Regions from separate parts of the Homo sapiens genome. Here region 1 is linked to region 2. The links are contacts of gene promoters, found by promoter capture Hi-C in blood cells and fetal thymus (Javierre and others, 2016). All regions are on one chromosome and are shown on one strand. The core of a region is centred on a gene start or on the middle of the fragment in contact, and the rest is flanking DNA. Distances in the headings are between cores, read along the strand shown.

Region 1 (5,640 bases), core at 960-3,459, 290 kb before region 2:
CTACTCGGAAGGATGAGGCAGGAGAATTGCTTGAGCCCGGGAGACGGAGGTTGCAGTGAGCCGAGATTGCACCACTGTACTCCAGCCTGGCTGACAGAGCAAGACTCTGTCTCAAACAAACAAACAAACAAACAAACAAACAAAAAAGAATTCAGATATAAGGAAAACCAGTGTGTCTAAAATATGTTCTAGGGAAGGTAGGACTTTGGCTTGAGTTTGAAGAATGAGTAAGAGAAAAGGAGAAAATGGGTGTGGAAAGACCAGAAATGGAAAAATTTTGAGAAGACGCATTGAAAATTGAGAAAATTCTCCCTTCCAACTTTATGAATTGGAAGTGACTACTATTATTTGTTTTAATAGTGGAACTATTAAAACCAGGCAGGCACAGTGCTGAAGCATGAATGAGACAATGGGAAGCCATGGAAAGCATCTAGGCAGCAAAGAAAGGTTGTTAGATTTGGAAATTATGTTTTTTGGAAGTAGCACAGCTTAAAAAATTGTCCAGGTGTAGTGTGGCTCACACCTGTAATCCCAGCACTTTTGAGAGCTGAGGCAGGAGGGTCTCTTGAGGCCAGGAGTTTGAAACCAGCCTGGGCAATATAGTGAGACGACGTCTCTTACAATTAAAACAAAACAAAAAAGAAAACAAAAAACAGTCGTTATGTGCTCCTTTTAAACAATTCAAACAATATGAAAACAAAAATTACAGTCGGGCATTGTGGCTCATGCCTGTAATCCCAGCACTTTGGGAGGCTGAGGCGGGCAGGTCAGGAGGTCAAGAAATCGAGACCATCCTGGCCAATATAGTGAAACCCCATCTCTACTAAAAATACAAAAATTAGCTGGATGTGGTGGCGCGCGCCTGTAGTCCCAGCTACTCAGGAGGCTGAGGCAGGAGAATCGCTTGAACCCGGGAGGCAGAGGTTGCAGTGACCTGCGATCGCCCCCACTTTACTCCAGCCTGGCTATAGATCCAGACTCCGTCTCAAAAAACAAAAAAAACCTACGTGCAATCTGACACCCTTTCCCCCAAGATAATCATTGCTAATATTTTGGCGAACCTCTTTCCTGAAATCTCTCCATGCTTGTAGAATATTGTGTCAAACCTCACATAAATGCACTCGTGTAGACATGCTGTTGTGTAATCAACTTTTTCCCCGAAGAATAAATTGTGAATAGCTTTTCATGTCAATAGATTTATATCATTTTAAATGGCTCCTTAGTATTGCATTGTATGTATATGTCACGTCTTATTTAAGCAGCACCCTATCGATGAACATTTACTCCCTTCATAATTAACTACGTCATATAACAACTTTGTGCATTCATCTTTTCGAAATTGTTCGATCATCTTTTTAAGGTAAATTCTTAAAAGTAATGGAGCTGGGTCAAGAAGAGGATATGCCCTTTGTCGTTTGGATTCAAGTTGCCGAATCGTCCTCAAATTTGCAGGGAGACCAGCGAGGAAGCTCCGGCATTAGTTCTGGTGAGAGACAGCTGAAACGGAGATGGCGAGGGATGAACAGAATCACAGGTGATCTAGCCCATCAAGGCCCATCCTCGGTGGGCTGGCGTATTCCTTCCCTTTTGCCTCTCTTTCACTTCTTTTTCTTAACATGGAGGAAGAACCGAGAACTCCATCTCCCAGCATTTCGCAGGGACCACACTCCCTGGGAACTGTAGTACCGGGTCTGAGAAGGGTCCGGAAGGAGAATAGGAAGCTGAGGGGCATGCTGGGAGGTGTAGTCCAGAGACAGAGACGAGAGGGAGAGGGAGAGAGGGAGAGAGGGAGAGAGGGAGAGACAGAGAGTGTGTGTGTGTGTGTGGGCGGGGGGAGGGGGGTGTCTATGCAAAGAGGATGGAGACGCTGCGAGTACGGCCCCTTGGGGATGGGGCCTCGGGCGACCTGACTTTCCTCACAGGTGGTCTTTGAGTCTACAAAATTCGCCAGCGGATGGTTGGCTTTATTCCACTGTCCGTGACCGGAGAGGGCGCGGCCCCTCTGCACCGGGCTCGCGGCGGGAGGCGCAGGCCGCGCGCGGGCTAAAGCAGGGCATGCCGGGAGTTGTGGTCCCGGCGCTCTGAGGCTGTGGGACGTGTCGCGGCGCCGCGCCGGCTCCTCCTTCCCTGCCCTTCTGAGCGGTCCCCCGCCTCCTCCCTCCGCCTCCTCCTCCCTCGCCCGCAGCCGAGCGTCCCCTCCCCCCACCCGTCGGGCTCCTCGGCGGCTACTGCAGAGGATTCAGAGCCGAGTCGCTGAGGAGGAGGCTCCGGTCCCCGCGCGCCATCCGCCACCCTACTGGACACGGGCGAGAGCGTCGCCGCCGTAGCCTCCGGAGAAGACAAGGGCATCGCCGCCTCAGCCGCCGCCGCCGCCGTTTTCGCCTGCAGCTGCTCACCGGTGAGGAGACTCCCCCCGCCACAGGGTCCGCTGGTCCTGAGTCTGGGCCGGTGGCGCTGGCGAGAATGAGAGGGGAGGCTGCGGAGCCCCCGTGCAGGTTGGGGGGAGGGGGTTGAGGTCGCGATGGAACGGCGGGCTGGCGGGGGAGACTTGTCCAGGCGCTGGCCGGGGGTGGGGTGAGGGTGGGACCCAAGCAGGTTGGGGGGCGGGCGACAAGGGAGGAGGACTTTTGATGGAGAATAACCCAACCTGGGACAGGAGAGTGGGGTGGGGGCGTCGGGTTGGAATTCGGGATGGTCTTGGGGCGAGGTGGAAGATGAGACTAGGGTGGGATGGCTTTTAATGGGGGAGGGGACTGAATGAGGGTGGTGATTTGGGTTTGGCCTGGAGCAGTTGACAGCTTGGGATCTGAGCTGGGGTGAGGGGCAGGGGAATGATTTCAACGGAGAGTGAGTGGCATGTACAGGGTTGGTTAGGGCCCTGCGTAGTGTTAATTCAGAAGGGTGGAATTTGGGGTGGACCTGGGGCAGGATGATGGAGGTGGCAGGAGTTGGGGGTGAGGGGCTTGGCATGGGTTGAGACCCAAGCTTGAAGTGGGTGTTTGTCATCTGGGGCTGGTGGAATTTGTGGAGACTTATGGAATAGCATGGGTTAGGATAGAGCAGAAGAGTGCAATTTGGGGGTTTCCTGGGGTGGGCTGATGGAGGTTGGAATAGGAGTTGGTGGAGGTGGGACATTCAGTGAGGGGAGTGTGATGGTGAGCTGGCAGGAAGGGGCCACATTGGAAGTCAGGCCCGAAATGGGAGGACAGGGATGGAAATGGAGTGTGGGGCACAGTGGGTTGGATTTAGGGTGATCTTACAATCACTGGAAAGGGCATGGTGGCTCCTTGGTTGCAGAGTCAAGGCAGAGGGCACATAAAACATCACTGGGCTGCTTTCATTGAAAGGATAGCGGCAGGGGTGAGCAAAGTTGGGGGATGGTATCTTGAAGAAAATATCCCTTGGCCAAGGTGGCAGAGGGAGTTTTGGAGAAGGACTTTCGGAGATGAGCTGGTAGGCCTGGGGAGGTGGTTGCTGATGGTGAGGTGGCACAGGGGAAATTTAAGGAATGGGAGACCTGGAGCTGTTGGTATGGATGGGGCAGAGAGGATGGAGAGGGACAGTGAGCTGTGCTGGAGAGCAGGGGGGAATTGGGTTGGATTATTTTGGTGGTGAAGGATTGGGGTGGCCTCCAAGAGACACATGAGGGTTAAGGGTTGGAATACTTAAATGAACAGCCTTGGTGGCTGTGGTTGGGTGAGAGGCAGTAAGGCTGTTAGAGGGGACTTTGCAGGGGACACGGAAGAGACCTTCTCATTCTTAGGGGCCATTTTAATCTGTTCGGGTGATGTTTTTGTTTGTTTTATTTATATTAGTAAAATTTGGAAGTCAAGTCAGCCCAAAGGGTAAAGTTGAAAGGGGATTTAGTTAAGGTAGAATTAAGGAGGGGAGGGTGTCTTCTGTTATTTGTATATCATAAAAAGTAAGTTGGGGGAAAAAAGCATACTTCCAAACTAAAGGTGGGAGAAGATAAACTGGAATGTAATGGATATCTTTCTATATGATGTCTCTGCCTTTTCTTTTCCCCTCTCCTCCTGGTGTATTTAAAAACTAGCCAGGCATTTTGAAATTTAAATAGATTTGATGAGCTTGAGATTGTTAAGGGTGCATTCCTTGCTTGAGAACTAATGAGTGAGCCTGAAAAATATGAGACTGAATTTATTTTGTAGGTAGGTAACAAGCACATAGGCAAAAAGAGCTTGGGCCTTTTTTACCCCCTCTTTAAATTGATTGCTTGAAGACGCCATTTGTTAGTGTCCTGGTTTGCAAGGCAATTAGGCCCATCATTGTATTGCAGGCTAATAATCCTGAGATGAGTCTTGGCACCACCGCTTTATGTAAACAGAGAAGACAGGAAATATGGAAATGTCATAAATATTCATTGGTGAGATGGTTTGGTACTGATGGAGTTTTTCATATGATTGTCTTTTGACATTGATAAGATTTAGAATAATTGGACTGTATTTCTAAAGATTGAATTTTCTTCCAAAGGAATTCAGGTGATCAGAATTCTGTCAGATGTGAATAAATAAAGCATATTGAGTCATTTTTATTTTATTTTTTGGGGAATGATGTTGATGTAGTCGCATTGTATTAACTACAGAAACAGCATCTCCACCTATTCATCAGAAATTCGATTTAAACCTTAGCGATATGCTCATTCTTAGGGCAGAACGATGATAATGGAAGGTACACAGGAGTGCAAATGGAGGGAACATCTTTAGAGAAACAGTTCTATGGACCTAATTGCATTAACTGTGATAATATGTTAAACATAAAGTGGCTGTTGATTAGAGCTCAGACTGAAAAAAAATGAGGAGGGATGTAAAGAAGATAAAATTGGCACCATTGGGATCGAAATAATTCTTTTTATTTTTGTTCAAGCTTCAGAATTTAGCTCGCAAACAAACCATTTTCCTTGGCTTTCACGATTGAGCATATAAAAATACCATTTAGAATCTTTTTTTTTTAGCTCCAAAATGGGCAGAATGATGGAACGTTGGACTTATCCTTTGAATTGAAAGTGTTTTGTAATGAGGAAGCTTTCTGTATTATAATAAAGATCAGGTTTGAGCAGTTACCTGTAATTCAGTGAGACTGTAATCTAATGTGAGCATTTCTCTCATAACTTTACTCTGAGGTCTAGACGTTGTTTTTGCAGATCTGCAGGCTTGGTCTAGAGGTGGGATGTTTATATTAAAGCCCTAGCTTTTGAAAGCCCAAAATGAAAAGTGCCTGGGAGAAATGTGTTGGTGGATTTTTTTTTTCCACAGCCGTGGTTACCTGTGTAGTAGTAATGTGTTTTTGTATCTTTACCTCATTTGATCCTCCCGATATCTTGGTGAGAAGAGAGCAGATGGAGGTATTGATAGACAGAAGCCTTTGTGGAACGAATAGCCCATGAGTTTAGGAGTTGAGTCCCAGATTCAAATCCCAGTTCTACTACTTGAAAGCTGAGTGATTTCAGTCAAGTCATTAAAAACCTTTCAGATGGCCAGGCGTGGTGGCTCACGCCAGTAGTCCCAGCACTTTGGGAGGCCGAGGTGGGTGGATCACTTGAGGTCAGGAGTTTGAGATCAGCCTGGCCAACATGGCAAAACCCCATCTCTACTACAAATACAAAAATTAGCTGGTAGCACG
Region 2 (5,624 bases), core at 2,493-4,992:
GGCCTGAGTAGACAGGAGCCCTGTGTCATTAACAACTCTTAAAACTGCACAGGCACTTCCAGGACCAGAAAAGCACCCTTGGCACCTGGGCACCTGACCAGTGAATACAATGCAAAAGGCTCCAACCGAAGTCGGTGCCCATGGCCCTTCTTTGGCCCCAATCTGAAGGCCCCTACAAAGGACTCACCACCTGTGGCTTGCTGCAGCACTTGCTGGCAGGGGTAGGCTCATCTGCAGGCCGAGCTGCCTCAGGGGGCTTGGCCTCAGCAGAGGGCGGTGCAGCCAGAGGCAAGCAGGGCATGTCCACTGGCACTGGGGCAGGGACCTCACCGGAGTGCAGGTTCAGCATGTACTGCTTGGTGACGTCCTCGAGCGATGGTGCCTGCAACGTGGGATGGGCTCGGGTAGGGAAGCCTATGGGTTCTGGCACAGCCACAGGGGGACCAACAGAAGTTGGTGGCTCAGGCACCACAATAGGCATAAATGTGGCGGGCACACTGGCATGGCGAACGTGTCTGGAGGAGGGCCGGGCCCGAGACAGGCTGCCAGTCTGGTCCTGACTGCCCTCGTCTCTCCGAAGCTCCTGGTGACTACTCCGAGCTGGGCGCTTCTTGGAGCCTCGGCGGATTAGCCTCGGGGACAGAATGTCAGCCAGCTTGGGGTCAAGGTGAAAGTTTCGGTGGGCAGTGGCAGGGGGAGGCAGAGCCTCAGGTAGGGCCCTTTCAGACTGTGCCCGGCTCCTGGTGGCACCAGGTTCTTCTGGCTCTGCCCGCTGCTCTACAAGGATGGGCTCGCTGCTGGATGGAGGCAGCATGGGCTCAACTTCTCGGATGGGCTCCCCTCCAGGGCCCTCGAATCCAGGCCCAGCCAGCTCCCCACGGCGGCTGGGGTCACTCAGGGATTTCTTCTTGGGGGCTTTGCCAGCAATCCTGTCGTCCACCACACGCCCCAGGGTGCCAGGCCCCTGAACTATGCTCTGAATAACCTCCTGATATCCCTTGCTCTCTTCACTGCCCACAGACCAGTCACTGTGACCACTGGTCAAGCCCTCATCCATGGCTGAGGTGGCAGGGAGCCCTGTCTTGGGGCTCAGTGAGCCCAGGAGGTTGCTGTCCACAGAGAACCCAGTAGGCTCTTCAGAGGTGGCAGCCCGGTGGCGCTGAGGAATTGGGTCACTCAGGGACCTGTAGGCCTCCCCTGCCTCCCCATTGCTCAATTCGCTCCCACCAGAACCTGAAGGTGGGACTTTGCGTCGTCGGCGGAGGGCACCTGGTGTGGGAGGGGTCTCAGGCGACACCAGGGCCCACCCGCCCAGACTGTCCTCAGTCCCAGGGCCATGGTGGTTCGTCTGGGCCGAGGATGAGGAAAGAGGTCGCCACATCCCTGTGGTACCCAGGCCGCAAAATGCTGCAACAGGAGGCTCAGGGTCTGCCCCAATGCCTTCATCTGTCAGACTGGACTCAGGGCCTGAGAGCTCCTCCTGGGACCGCTGCCCTCGGGTCACATCCCCTGCCCAGTCAGGGCTTCCAGGGGGGGCATCGCTTCCATCATCTTGTTGGGCACCCATGCGCTGGATCTTCTCAAAAACCTGGCGGGCCTCCTGCACATATTGGTCCTGGACGATGAGGGGCAGCGGATCCTCCTCGGCACCAGGGCCTGTGAGCAGGAGCTCGGAGGAGCTGGACTTCAGAGCACTGGTGCGGGGCAGGCGGCGGGCCATGGGCTTCTCAGAGCAGGTGAATGACTTTGCTCTCCGCAGAGTGGCTGTCAAGTCCTTGAGTGTGGGGCGCGTGCCAGGTGATGCTGGGGCTGGGATGGGTATGGGTTCAAGTTGCCCCACAGGGCCACCTGCGGATGGTGAGTCTCTGCCATCTAGGGGGTTGCTTCCACGGTCCCCGGAGCTCCCACCAGGTTTTCGGACCCTCAGCTCTGAAAGGTCTGAGCGCAGGAAACTGAGAAGCGTCAGGGTCTCTGAGGCGATATCTGGATTTGACAGGGACTTCCGCTGTCGACTCTTTTCAGGCTCAAATCCTCCATCCCTCAATGCCCTAGAGGTGCCTCCAGGTCCTTTGGCACGGGTTCGAGCCTGGGACCGCAGGAGCCCTTCCCCAGCTCCAAAGCTAGGGGAGCGGTACACGCCCCAGCCCCCAGAACCCCTACTAGACCATAGGTCGTCGTCCTTGAGGGTCTCCGTGCTGGAATAACGGCTGCTACCGCGGGAGCCTGCGGGGCTGGCCAGGTACGAGGGAAAGCTCACCTTGGCCACACGGAAAGCTCCTCCCACAGAGTCAGACATAGGCCGAAGTCCCTCCTGGGGACCTGGGACGCAGGGCGGAGAGCCACTACCCCACTCCCGGAGTCCTTCTTCTCTAGGGGCTCTTGGAGATGTTGGGGGCTCAGGGCTCCCAGAAACCCCTGCTGAGTTCATGCTGCTTAGATTTAACCCATCACTGTCAGGCCTGCAGTCCTGATCCAATAGGGAGCTTCCAGGCCTGAGCCCGGGCCTCCCTCCCCAGCGGTGGCCGCCCTCACCGTCTCGGTCGTCGTCACTGCCCGAGGAGTGGCCGCCGTGGTAGGCCGGACTCTGGGCTCCAGGCAGCTGCGGCGGGCCCTCCTCTTCCTCCTCGCTGGAGCTGGCAGCACGACTGCGGCTGACAGGATAGGAGGCGGCGATGGAGGAGGAGGAGCAGGAGGCCCGGGCCCCGGCCTGCGGTTGGGAGAAGATATGCCAAGAATGTAAACCATCCGCTGGACGCTGCGCCCGCTCCTGTTGCTGCTGCGGCCGGCGCAGCCTCCCTTCGGTCTCCGGCCCGGTCAGGGGCCGCGCCGAACGCAGACCCGCCAGGGGGAAGCATGTCCGAGGGGGTGGCGTCGGTGGCTGCCGCGACTCCCGAGCCGGAGGCTCCCACGCGGCACCGTCGGGGCTGGGCGTTCCTGGGGATTCAGAGTCGGCGCTGGGCCTCCTGGAGCCAGGACCGCCGAAGAGCTTGCGCATCTCGGTGACGCTGGGCCAGGCTCCTCGCGCTGGGCCCTCGGCCGCTTCTTCCGCGGCCGCGGGTAAGACGCCTCCGTCTCGGGTCCCAGCGGAGCCGTCGTCCAGACGCGGCGCGTCGAAGCGCCGGGAGAGCTGGCGAACCGACGGCGAGAGGCTGCGGAGCGGGCGCGGCTGCGCGGGGGCGGCCAGGGGCCCAGACGCCAGCTTGGACACGCGCCGAGAGGGCTGGCCCCGGGCAGCCGTGGTCGGCCGGCACGAGGCGCGTCGCCTCAAGCCGGGGGTGTCCGTGTCCTCCTCCCTCAGCCCGGGGCCGCCGCTCCAGCGCTCCAGCAGCTTGAACGAGACGCTGCGGTAAAGCTGGGGCCGGGGTGCCCCGTCCGCCATAGTGGCGTAACTCACTCCGGGGGGGCTGGCCTCGGGCAGCCGCGGCCAACCCCCCCTGCGCCCCCACTCCCTAGGAGCGCAGCGGCCCACGCCGAAAGCAGCGCACGGGAGTGTGGGAAGAGGACGCAGAGACCGGAGCAGAGGTTTCTCTGCCGCGGCTCAAGTTTCTGTGGCCACCGGCCGCAACGTCTCCATCCCGGGCGGCCCCTCCCGCCTCAGCGCCGACCCCCAGGCCCAGCCCCCGCCGCGGCTGGAGCGACCAGGGGCACCGCGGCACCGCCTGGGCGGGATCCCAGCGCTTGGTTCCTCGACTCTGCGTCCGCCTGCCCAACGCCCTTGGCTGCTCGCTCCTGGCACCCTTTTGTTGCAAATAAACTTTGCGGCAGAGGCAAGGGGGCGGGGGGCGGGGCCTCGCGCCCAAAAGAGGGGGTGGGCTCCGGGCGTGCGCGAGCCTGGGAACCGCGTGGTGGGAGGGAATCAGGGAGGAGCCGAAGAAGAAAAAGCCTGCTGGAGGACTTGCAGACTGAGGCGACCCTCTGGCCCTCCAGAGAGGTCCCTCGGGAGCCCAGCAGGCCGAGCTGCCCCCAGGGAGTCGCTGAGACACACACAACCGCTGAGCGTGCTCAGCTCCGCAGACTCGCAGCCAGGGCGCCGCGTCCACCGCGGGCCACCAGCCTCCGCGCGGAAACACCTCCTGCCCAGGGGCTCCAACATGGCAACCTCGGACTCACAAACTCTCGTACACACTGACACTCAGGTGCACGCAGACGCACACTCTCTGGGCCGGGAAAGGGGTGGGACTCGGCGCCAGGGAGAGCCCGGGGAGCCGCGGGCTAACTGAAGGGTCCGTCGCGCCCTACTCCCCGCCCAGGCCACGCCTCCTCCCCTTCCCTCCCCCTCCCCGCCCGCCCTCTGCGGCGAATTTAGCTGTAGCCACGCCCTTGTCCCCCCATCTCGCTCCCAAGCGCCCCGCCCATCCCACCTCCCAGCCGCCTGTCCGGCTCCGACCGGCCCCCAACCCGCCCAGCGTTGCTCCAGAAGTCCCACCCTTCACGACCGCGCCCCCACCCCTACTTTTCCAGCTGCCACGCCTTCCACCTGCCCCTGCAGTCTGGCGGCTCTTCTCCTGGACTCTCCGCCTGGATCCCCGAGCCTTTTCTTCTTGCTCTGGAGTACGCGGCTCTTGCGCCCCCTCGCGGCGTGATTTTCCCAACGCACGGAGTCCTGGACGGATAAAGCAGCACCCATCCCCCAAAAACGGAGAGTTGTGAAAACTTCCTTTCAGTCGTTACCTAATCCCCTTAGTCTTTTTCAGACCTTCGCAAAGCGCACTGCCCCTTCTTAGGCCTTATACACAAAAGGAGCTTCGACGGGAACGCCCTCGACTTCCCACTGCCAAACCTATACTCTTACCCGCAGCTGCTTCACCTTCTTGGCAGGAAAAGTGTCGGTTGTTTCTCTGGCTTCACGCTGATCCCTCGCTTGAGCTCCCCTCCCGCCCCTGCCTCCGTCTGAGTCTCACATTGTTCTCGGTATTGGGGCATCATCCCCTTCCGCATTCCCACCTGCCTCTAGATCCCATTCATCCTCCCGGCCCAACTAACGAATGAACGAACGAATGAAAATGTATGGAGTACCTATAATGTATGGGCAATATTATTTAACTTATTTTTTAAAATCCACAAACCACCCTTGGGGACAAATATTATTACCCCTTCTCTGTGGACCGTGAAGGAGAAGTAACTTTGACCACTATGCAAGTCAGGAAATAGCAGCTCCTGCTAAAATTCAGATTTCAGGGGCTTCAAACACCATGCTCCTCCAGCCAGCTCTGAGATGCACCCCCAAATCCTGATGAAGAAGGAGGTTCTCGTTCCTTTGAGCCCCCAGTCTCCTCCTTCTCCTCCTTGGGCCTGAGCTCACTCTCCTCAGGAACAGAGGATAACCTGGTCTGACCCATGCCCCTCCAGCGCTGCCCAGCCTTCTTCAGGCCTGGTCAAACTGCCCTGGCCCCTCCAACCCCCAGTAGCAAGGCCTCGGGGACACATAGTTAGGTCAGCAGTCTGTGCATTACCCAGCCAACCCCACTGCCACCAGGTCCAGCCAAGGAGATGTAGCTGGGCCAGACTAGGCTAGGAGACGGGGTTCAGAGGAGAGGGGCAGGCAGGAGGATAGGAAAGGATGGTAGACACCCAGGGATTGCCTGACTACCGAATGAGAGAGAGAGGACTCAGCCGGGACTCCA

The links. The method cuts DNA at HindIII sites, captures the fragments that hold promoters and counts their contacts. A CHiCAGO score of 5 or more calls a contact.
Region 1: the fragment with the promoter of FAM168A here is called in contact with the fragment with the promoter of ARHGEF17 in region 2 in 1 of 17 cell types (neutrophils); the score reaches 5.3 in neutrophils.

What each region holds. Positions count from the first base shown.
Region 1 is chr11:73,594,681-73,600,320 of GRCh38, reverse strand. It overlaps FAM168A (family with sequence similarity 168 member A), which reads left to right and starts at 2,209. Exons shown (of 8, transcript NM_015159.3): 1 at 2,209-2,398. RefSeq lists silencers at 1,766-1,995, 2,126-2,255 and an enhancer at 2,147-2,875. The HindIII fragment of the contact is 4,267 bases long and covers 1-2,987 here.
Region 2 is chr11:73,306,394-73,312,017 of GRCh38, reverse strand. ARHGEF17 (Rho guanine nucleotide exchange factor 17) reads right to left here and starts at 3,742. Exons shown (of 21, transcript NM_014786.4): 1 at 188-3,742. The coding sequence starts at 3,379. ARHGEF17-AS1 (ARHGEF17 antisense RNA 1) reads left to right here and starts at 2,657. Exons shown (of 3, transcript NR_147696.1): 1 at 2,657-3,346; 2 at 3,454-4,136; 3 at 4,462-4,507. RefSeq lists enhancers at 1,927-2,747, 2,753-3,630 and silencers at 3,051-3,270, 3,501-3,830, 4,231-4,370. The HindIII fragment of the contact is 10,810 bases long and covers 1-5,624 here.